Regions from separate parts of the Homo sapiens genome. Here all the other regions are linked to region 3. Evidence: promoter capture Hi-C in 16 types of primary human blood cells and fetal thymus (Javierre and others, 2016). All regions are on one chromosome and are shown on one strand. Each heading gives the region's core, a stretch centred on a gene start or on the middle of the fragment in contact. The rest is flanking DNA. Distances are from core to core; before and after follow the strand shown.

What was found. Contacts are between HindIII fragments. The CHiCAGO score rates a contact against its expected background, and 5 or more counts as called.
Region 1: a contact is called between the fragment with the promoter of RPS3A here and the fragment with the promoter of USP38 in region 3, in 1 of 17 cell types (non-activated CD4 T cells). The highest score is 7.8, in non-activated CD4 T cells.
Region 2: a fragment that was not itself captured here is called in contact with the fragment with the promoter of USP38 in region 3 in 1 of 17 cell types (non-activated CD4 T cells); the score reaches 5.5 in non-activated CD4 T cells.

The regions. Positions count from the first base shown.
Region 1 is chr4:151,098,367-151,101,889 of GRCh38, forward strand. It overlaps RPS3A (ribosomal protein S3A), which reads left to right and starts at 1,262. Exons shown (of 6, transcript NM_001006.5): 1 at 1,262-1,348; 2 at 2,119-2,222; 3 at 2,609-2,796. The coding sequence starts at 1,287. RefSeq lists enhancers at 172-241, 519-1,718, 1,017-1,601, 1,022-1,581, 1,602-2,185. The HindIII fragment of the contact is 1,842 bases long and covers 1-1,750 here.
Region 2 is chr4:148,439,950-148,443,075 of GRCh38, forward strand. NR3C2 (nuclear receptor subfamily 3 group C member 2) reads right to left here and starts at 2,465. Exons shown (of 9, transcript NM_000901.5): 1 at 2,211-2,465. RefSeq lists a silencer at 2,373-2,662. The HindIII fragment of the contact is 343 bases long and covers 1,312-1,654 here.
Region 3 is chr4:143,183,572-143,186,985 of GRCh38, forward strand. USP38 (ubiquitin specific peptidase 38) reads left to right here and starts at 1,346. Exons shown (of 10, transcript NM_032557.6): 1 at 1,346-2,561. The coding sequence starts at 1,880. It overlaps USP38-DT (USP38 divergent transcript), which reads right to left and starts at 1,290. Exons shown (of 4, transcript NR_185979.1): 1 at 937-1,290. RefSeq lists enhancers at 396-1,281, 1,282-2,166 and silencers at 1,218-1,267, 1,488-1,737. The HindIII fragment of the contact is 4,447 bases long and covers 1-2,878 here.

The DNA of each region.
Region 1 (3,523 bases), core at 12-2,511, 7.9 Mb after region 3:
CCACTGGCTGAGTACCAAGCCTGTATGGGCCAGATGCTTTCCGAGGGCTGCACACTTGAGCTAGCCAGCCACACCTTGCCAGGATGTGCTCTGTTAACCCCTACAGTTAAAAAAAATGGGGGAGGCGGGTTTGGATTAGTTGCAAAAATGGAAACATTTGGAGATCTCACTTTTTTTTTTTTGACGCAGTTTCACTCTTGTTGGCCAGGCAATGGCGCGATCTCGGCTCACTGCAACTTCCGCCTCCTGAGCTCAGATTCTCGTGCCTCAGCCTCCCGAGTAGCTGGGATTACAGGCACCCACCCGGCTAATTTTTTGTATGTTTAGTAGAGACGGGGTTTCACTATGTTGGCCAGGCTGGTCTCGAACTCCTGAGCTCAGGCGATCCGCCCGCCTCAGCCTCCCAAAGTGCTGGGATTACAGGCGTGAGCCACCGCGCCCGGCCAACGCCCTGCTAATTTTATCATTTTCTTGTAAAGACGGGGTCTGGCTGTGTGGCCCAGGCTAGTCTCCAATTCCTGGCTTCAGTTGATTCCCCTGCCTCAGCCTCTTAAAGTGCTGGGATTACAGGTGTGAGCCAACGAGTTCGGTCTCACTCTATTTTAAAAAAACCTTTTAATCAATATATAACAGACATATAGAAAAGGACACAAATAAGCGTAGAGCTTAGTGAATGTTCACAAAGCAACAACACCTGAGATGAACCAGCATCCACATCAACAAGCAGAACGTCGCTAGCATCTCTGGAGTGATGCTCATTTAGCCCTATGAAACCTCATGAAGCCGACCGTTTTATCACCCCCATATTACGCATGAGGAAACAAGCGTGGAGAGGTCGGTCTCAAGCAAAGCCCTGTTGAAACCGGCATTTGAATCAGATCCGCTGACTGACTCCAAAGCCAATGCTCTCAAAAAGCAGGTTTGGGGGTTAGACGGTGAGTTCAGCTTTGAACGATGTTGAGTGGGCGTCTCGTTTTACAGAAACTTACTTCCCGACGTCACAGCCACAGAAACCACAGGTAACCAGACGCCTGCACGTCAGGCCACCGACGCCTTGGTCTACACAGCGCAGCCTCCAGTGAGCCCGCGGCATGCCGCGCGGCCTCCCCACACACGATGGCGATGTCGCAACCACAGTAGAAAGAGTGGCGCTCTCTACTGTCCCGGAATTCTTGAGGCCGGAAGAATAACAGGGCAAAGGTCACGTAGACGGCGCGCCCCGCCCCCGTACGCCTAAGTTCTCGCGCGACTCCCACTTCCGCCCTTTTGGCTCTCTGACCAGCACCATGGCGGTTGGCAAGAACAAGCGCCTTACGAAAGGCGGCAAAAAGGGAGCCAAGAAGAAAGTGTAAGTCGCGACTGTCGTGGCGTCTTGCTTTTTGGGGGTCTGCTGGAATCGGCGGGCTGGTCCTAGATCGCGGCGTAGGCCGGATGGCGAGGATTCCAGTCGGATTGTGCGGGCCGTGGCGGGTTGGTGCACCCAGGAACGCGGCCTGGAGGGTCGGTGTTGAGTAGCGGCAGGTCGGCTGCCTTTCCCAGGCCTTCTGGTCCTTGCGCGCGTCGCGTTTGAGCCGGCTTGCCGGCGCGACTCGGCTGGAATGTTAGTTTTGTGGGCTCACGAGCTGCCTCAATTCTGCGAGTGTTTGATGGCACTGCGACAGCAGGAGTTGAGGAAAGCACCCTTCTATCCATTCAGGACCCGTCAATCTCGCCTTTGCTTGGTCCCGCTGGAATCTGCGAGCTCCTGCTAAGCTTTGGGGCCATGCAGTCTCTTAGTTACCAGTACATGCCATTACGTGCCAGCAAAGTTAATGAGATTGCATGTTACTCGTGCCTGTGTAGTGGAAGGACCGATGCATGTTATTCTAAGTGCCTGTGTAGTGGATGGACCGATGAGGGTGGGAAGTGGACATAACCTTTCAAAGTCTGATGCATGCAGTGAAACGTACAGTGGGAAGAGCTAGATTTATGTTTGTTCCCCTCACCTCACTGTGAGATATACTTTGGTATCAAATTGCCGGTTAGCTTTTTAAAATATTAATGGGAAATACCATTAACAGTGAAAAATACAGTAAGAATTGATCTGCAATGGAACTTAAGCATCTTCTTAAAATCCAGGGTTGATCCATTTTCTAAGAAAGATTGGTATGATGTGAAAGCACCTGCTATGTTCAATATAAGAAATATTGGAAAGACGCTCGTCACCAGGACCCAAGGAACCAGTAAGTAGCTTATTCTTGGTTTGTATTTTCCTTAAGTTGGCGCTTGTATATTGTAGCAGGCATCTTGGTCTGTTGTTGGTCCTGTGGTGGGAGACTTTAAGGAAATGTCAGCTCTTGGTTGCAGCCTTGGCACCTGTGGTGATCATTTTTAGTACAGCACTTGGAGAGAAGCAAGATGGTGCTTTTTGAATTAAGAAAATGTGCCATGGGTAGTTCTGAGCTTCAAATAAGTACTGTTGATAAGTCACTGGTGTCTGGATAGATTTGATAACAAAGGTTAAGGTCTTTATAATTTACCATTAACTTAATTTCTACCCTCAGTTTACAGGCTTGACTTTGCTTATATGGTTCCTAAATGTTAAGATACTTGTTTTTTTCTTTTGTAGAAATTGCATCTGATGGTCTCAAGGGTCGTGTGTTTGAAGTGAGTCTTGCTGATTTGCAGAATGATGAAGTTGCATTTAGAAAATTCAAGCTGATTACTGAAGATGTTCAGGGTAAAAACTGCCTGACTAACTTCCATGGCATGGATCTTACCCGTGACAAAATGTGTTCCATGGTCAAAAAATGGCAGGTGAGACCCAAAGTTCCTTAGAGTGGTTGTGCTATGGGTGTTTGACCAAGGATAGCATGGTTTGATGACTGGAAGGAGCAAGTTCATTTTATTTATTTATTGAGACCAGTGAAATGTCCACAAAGTTCATTTTAAATTTTTGTTTTCTTGCCGTTGTTGAGTGCTAACTCTGGGGTTGCCACACCATATTTTACTTACTATTTAAATCTAAGATTTAATAGTGGTGTATCATCAAAGTCAGATTTTCTTGCTGCATAGATTAGTGGTTTTTTGAGGAACGTTTAGGTGCAGGTGGGCGGTTTTGCCTGTCTTAAGGATGTTTTTTGACCTCAGAATTGAGTGAATGTTGATTAACTGTGGCAGTAGAGCATAATTGTGGCAGAGCCTCTGGAGTGAGGTTAAAATCTGGGCTCCATTTGCCTATTGTGTTCTCGTTGGAAAGTAACTTGTTTTCTAAGCCTCGGTTTCTTTATTTGTAAAGTGCAGATAAGAGTGTCATTTTATTGAATTGTGAGGATGAAATGAAAATATTTCAGATGTGTCTGGCTAACTATCCAGTTGGAATATTTTGTGGGAGTTTTTTGTTTTTGGGAGATTGAGTCTCTTATCGTCCGGGCTGGAGTGCAGTGGCGCCATCTCTGCTCACTGCAACCTCCTCCTCCTGGGTTCAAGGGATTCTCATGCCTCAGCCTCCCAAGTAGCTGGGATTACAGGCACCCGCCACCAC
Region 2 (3,126 bases), core at 233-2,732, 5.3 Mb after region 3:
GTTTGGCTAACCTTGAACTCCCTTAATAACATAAAATAGGCTGTGTTTCACCACATTATTGACAGGAGTCTCATTAAGGAATTTGCAAAAGGCTTTGCTGAAATCTAAATTACTTTGTTTAAGGTATTCTCATCTACCAACCTAATGCACCTCTCAACAAAGGAAACAATACAGATTGGCAATAGTCAAACACAAAAGAATACAAGACATCTAGCATCTGCACGGCTTCTACACAAACATTTTTTTAAGATCAGATATTTTTCAAATAGCATTATTGAAATATTTTGAGTCTCCCTAGTATTTTAATTAGTCTTTTCTGTAAACAAATGGGTCCAGTTAGGAATTTATTTACTATGTCATCCAGGAAGCAGAGGTTATCTTTTTGCAACTGGCACAATGACCATGGCTTGAGCAGAATTTCAGTCAACCTGTACTAACTAGTGAATACTGAAAATACTAGTCGATGAATATGATCCTCATAGAACTTAATATCTAGAGGATAAAGAAAAAGTTTATGTTACTAAAGTATAAAATGAAGCAGATAGAGGTATACAAATCTAACTAACAAAAATCAGGCTTGCCTGCCTCACAATGGAAACCATACCAAAGATTCTCTTAGGACAAATGCAAAAAACATTATGAACTTTTAATTTTCATGCAAATGGGCCTCGCCCCAAAACACAAAAAAAAATTCACTAAAGGAAAAGCACTGGTGGAGGTGCTACTTTAAGCCATACATATGCTCTCAAACACAAAAGAAATGCTGTTTTCACAAAGGAAAACCTTAAAGTTTTACGTTTTACAGTCTGTGTTAAATTGCCCTTTTCCATAAAGAAGTACTTTTTTCGGGAATATTAACAAAGATCCTTGCGAATTTGTATTTTATCTGGAAACACTTTCACTTTTAGTAACCCCCAAAACCCAATCTCATCATGATGGAAATGATAGAAAAGGCATCTTTTTTATATTTATTTGACTATAAGATGGCACTTTAAAGACTAAAGCTTAAGAATCTCACAATCATCTATAGACTGCATAGTTGTAAAAGTTCACTATATGTAACTATTTTTTGTCATTCCCCACTACATAACTATTATGTTCCTCTCTTTTATAGATGAGGTAAATGATAGAAATCTGCCCAAGGTCACCTGAGAGAGCGGGAGAACCAGTTAGAACTGAGCACACCTGATTTCTATTCACTCACCTAATTTACCGAGCCACCTGATCTTTCCAAAAATCGCCAAACAAAACTATGCCTCCCTTAAAGGAAAAAGCTCCACTTTAAATTATTTTTTAAAACTTCTCCTCTCAAGCTTTTCCATGATAGCTGCCACGATGTCAAACATAAAATTTAAACTTCACAGCAGGACTTCACAGATGGAGAATGCTGTTATCATTACTATGTAAATATCATCAATAACAGCACCTAGAGAAATGGCAATACAAAATGTTAGGAAGCAATTTGGTGCCTTTAAAATTCGGCGGTTTCAAAAGCTCGTCTGCTATCAAAAGTTTTCCTAACTCCTATGTCATAATAAATAATTAAAACTGATGGTGCCATAAACCATTATTATTTAAACCTGGTCTTTTTAAATTGAGTAGGCAAAGCCACGCACCTAAAATTCAGTAGCAGAGTAAGGATGCCACCAAAAGAAGCTTCGTCCCCTTCTCCCTTGCCCTTAAAATTCCAACTGATGCCATAGGAAGCGTAGCCTGTCTCAAGAGTTTCGCGAATGCTAGCGAACGGGAAATGCACGAATTTCCAGAGCCCCTTTTATACAGGATCTATTAGGATCTATATCTCCTTCAACTGCCCTTATGCGCTACACCTCCGGCTGAGATTTGGGAGCGTCCGCAATTGATAAAGGAAAGAAATATTATTCAAACGTCCTTTAAAAATTGTACAGGGAAAATGATCCGAAATTCATCTTTGGGTAAAGGGAAGGGTGGTAGACCTCCCACTGCCAAAGGCAGTTAAAAGCTGCTAGTTAGAGGGCATTTATCCAAAGTGGCCAAACTTTCCCAAAATAGTCCTCTGGCGGCCAAAGGGGGAGAAAAGTGGAAAACCAAAACAAAACAACAAGCACACAGCACCATACTGACTGTGCCTCCGGATTACGCAGCCACTTCTCCCTGCAAAGTGCACGCTCCCGCGCCGCGGCCGCACGCCGAGCACGGCAAGCGGTGCCCCGCCGCGCGCCCCTACACACCTGCCTCGGCCGGGGTCCGTCTCTCGCCGTCTACCTGTTGCAGCGCTTGCCACCGCCACGAAACCCCTGCTGCGGAGCCCCCCTAAATCCAACCACATCCAGGCCAGCGAGTGCCGCTCTCCCTGCAGCGGGAGAGCCCGAGGCAGCAACGCTCTTGCACCCAGGTGACTGACTGCACGGGCTTCCTCTGAGCAGCCTGAAGTTGGCTCCCGTCTCCCGGGCCCAATGACACCCCGGGCGCGGAGGGGCTGAGAGGAGGGGGCAGGGGCAGGGGCAGGGCCAGGGCGGGCAAAAAAGGGAGGGAGAGAGGGCGGGCGAAAGCCCGGAGGGGGAGTGGGCCAGCTGGAGGGCTGGCCCTTTTAAAAGCGGGTCACATGTCCAGATAAAGTTCAGGTTGCTATCCCGCCCCCCTGAACCCTTCCTATTGGCCCGAAGAGAAGCAAGGCTCCACGCCGCACGGGTCAGGCGGGCTTCTTATTGGACAATCCAGGCTGTCAGTCACCAGGCGGGCGACATGACTGATACAAAGTTGCTGCGACACAGCCTGGACTCGGCAGCTTCCTTAAAGCCGCAGCCGCGGCGGGAGCTTGGGGTGCCGGGCGGTGGCTACATCAGGCGGCCTCCGCACGCTGCCCCCACCCCCATCGCTCGGCCGCCCCAAACTTGCTTACGTCCACCCTGCTCTCCTTCTGACCGACCCCAGGATATCTGGAGAGATGTGAAAAGTGTGCTGACGCGGAAGAAGTCGGTTTTTCCGCGAGCAAAGTGTCGTCCCCTCACGCTCTCCACCTGCAGCTCCAGGTGAGCTGCAGCCCAGACCCTGGCGCCGCCCAACAGCGTCCGCGCGCGGGGAGGACTCTGGGTGGGCTTCACCCGACCCTCGAGGTTCCTCTCCCAGCCCCTTTCCACTGTCTCC
Region 3 (3,414 bases), core at 96-2,595:
ATACTTAATTCCTTCTTAATATTTTATTTTCTATATTACCTTTGTCTTCCACTGTGGCATTATTCCCAGTAAAGACAAACATCTGTGTACCTTCACCTCCTATTGGAAAAATCATTCCTGTCTCTAGCATGACTGATAGATTAATTACCTCAATTCTCTTTTATCTTCCGTATCTTCCTACGAGTCAACTTGGTCTTAAGTTCCCTTTTACTCAAGCTCCTGTCTCCTCTAAACTGCTCTTCTTAAGACTACCATAATCGACGTGTGAATATATTAGTGTAATCGTGTTTGTAACTTGGTAAAAAAACAAAACACTATTTAGCAAACTGAAGTAACAGAATTTTGTTCATTTTTCTACGGGACATTTTAAATGACCTATTTCTTTAAAGTTTTGTCTGTATTACAGGGCCTTAATGTCTAGTTTCACAACTATATTAACCAAGCCTGAAGCAGGCTACAGTTAGGCAATATTTTCCAATATAAAGACCTCTGATTAAATTCTTACTGTGAATCTTCGGAATTTGGCATGAAACAGAACAAGCATGATTGCACCTGTTCTTCCCTATTGTAAACCATCTTCGGTGTCAACATATACAATAAGTTTTGTGGTATTTCCACCTGGTTTTCTATTTTCAAAGTACCCTTGTATGACACAGGTATAAAAATATTTTGATTCTAATCTGCCATTTTCCTTACTCTCACACTTTTTTGGACGGCTTATAATTTTCGATATGGTACAAAGCTCACTAACTGGTTCTTTGCTAGAGGCCTGCTACTGATACTGATGGTCGCTAAATGCTAGGTACGCCGCCAGTATTGCTCTTACTTCAATACCGACATCGCAGGATAAAGGCAGTCACATTTAGGCGCGCAAGCGCAATTCTTGATTAATGAGCCAAGGCAGACTTCTCAATCCGAGTTTTGAGTTTTCCTTACTTTTCCCCCAAATGCTCTTTTCCTCGGATTTCACATCGATAGCACTTATTCGAGTTTTCACGAGTAACCTGACGCAGGCGGAACCGACGAAGACTAGCCGGCAAGAATCCTACAGTCGCAGCCATCTGCGCAGCGTCCGCCGGGGACGCTCCGCGCGGAAGACCGCCTGTGACTCGACACACTCTCCAGTGACGCGGCCGTCGCCGCACCTGCGCGGCGGGGCGGGAAGGAGACTCCCAGCGCCGGGGGGAAGGGAGTCTACGACTCGGGAGGGAGGTGGGGGAGCAGGGAGGGAGAGAGGGAACAAGGGAGAAGGAGAGAGGCGGACAGGCGGAGGGGCGGAGGGGCAGAGGGGCGGAGGGGCGGTCCTTCCGGAGGTTCTTAGGTCCTTCACTTCCTGTTTGCCGGCACTTCAAAATCCGGGTCAAAGGGTGTCGCTTCGGTCTCTTCTCCCCGGCTGATCCCAGCACTCTCCGTGACAGCGCCTCCTGACTCAGCCCAGGACCGGCTTCTTCTCACGACCTGCTGGAGACTGGACGCCCACACCTGACCCGGAACTCGGAGGCGTGCTTCCTCCACCCGCCGGCTAGCAGCCCCGGGCCCTGAGCTCCCGCCGACGCCGCTGGGGGGCCCGACAGGCCCCTCGGCGCTGATGCTGAGTGGGATCGAGGGCCCGGGGCGGCGGCGGAGTACGGGCCTCTGGCGCCTTAGGCCAGCCGCAGGTGTCGGTTCTTAGGCTCTCCAGGCTCGCTAGCTCCCGCCCCGGCTTGGATGGGTCTCCCTGCGCCATAAATGTGGCTGCTGAGGCGGCGGTGGCCGTGGCCCGTCGCGCTGCTGCTGCGGCGCTCCAAGTTCATCTCCGCCCCGGGGCTCTCCTGCCCCACCTCGGGGCTGCCGCCACCCGCTCCTTATCCCCTGGCCCTGGCCTTGCAGCGTGGCGACAATGGACAAGATCCTGGAGGGCCTTGTGAGTTCCTCGCATCCCCTGCCCCTCAAGCGGGTGATTGTGCGGAAGGTGGTGGAATCGGCGGAGCACTGGCTAGACGAGGCGCAGTGCGAGGCCATGTTTGACCTGACGACCCGGCTCATCCTGGAGGGCCAGGACCCTTTCCAGCGGCAGGTGGGGCACCAGGTGCTGGAGGCCTACGCACGATACCACCGGCCAGAGTTCGAGTCCTTCTTCAACAAGACCTTCGTGTTGGGCCTCCTTCATCAGGGCTACCACTCTCTGGACAGGAAGGATGTAGCCATCCTGGACTACATTCACAACGGCCTGAAGCTGATTATGAGCTGTCCGTCGGTGCTGGATCTCTTTAGCCTCCTGCAGGTAGAGGTGTTACGGATGGTGTGTGAGAGGCCGGAGCCGCAGCTCTGTGCCCGACTGAGCGACCTTCTGACCGACTTTGTGCAATGCATCCCCAAGGGGAAATTGTCCATCACGTTCTGTCAACAGCTGGTTCGAACGATAGGCCATTTCCAGTGCGTGTCCACCCAGGAAAGAGAGCTGCGGGAATATGTCTCCCAGGTGACAAAAGTGAGTAACTTGCTGCAGAACATCTGGAAGGCCGAGCCTGCCACACTACTGCCTTCCCTGCAAGAAGTTTTTGCAAGCATCTCTTCCACAGGTAAGGGTCATTATCTTTCAGAATATCTCATAAAAAATCAGTATATGTCTCTCTTGCACACACACATTCACACCATGTTTTCCTCCTGCCCTAAAAACATTCTTAAGCGAGAGCAAATCCTAATACCTCATCCCAAATTTATTCACATTCACTACCTTATTCAGGACGTCACATCGTACTTTAAAAACAGGCAGCGTTCCCATTTTAAAGGTTGAGAACGTCCAGGTCTAAGACCTTTGGCACTAAACAAGTTGCTTAATTACCCAGCCTCTGCTCAAGTTATTTGGAATGCTTTGAGGATGACAGCTACTGCAGAAAGCTTCCATTCATTAGTGACTAATGGTAGCATGATGTTTACCATAGTATTTATTGTACGTGTCTCTAATTTTGTAATGAGTTTTTCCCCCATTTTTGTATTTCCTCATTTTTGAATTAATGGATTGTGCAGTTTGTTTTATTACTGGATTATCCCAGATAACTATGAAGTTTTTAAATAGTGACATTTTTTGTCTACAGTATCTAGTAGACAAAGGAGGAATACAGATAGAATGAGGGAAGGAAGAGTACGAGGATTTAAATATTTGTTTTTGTGCCCATGAACTGCATTCTCAGAAAGCAGAGAAGGGTCACATGATACTTGCCTAGAAAATGCTTTCTCGCCGAGGAATTTTACCAGTACCTCTACCTTCGTTGTTCTGTCTTGGACCTTTCAGGTCTGAATAGATTCAAAATCATGTTCATTTCCGCTCTACTTGGTACAAGCATTCTCCTTCATTTATAACACCAGTGGGGACTGTGTGGCTGTTCAAATTGAACTTGTGAGGGATGTGTCCTCTTCTTATCTTAAGAACCA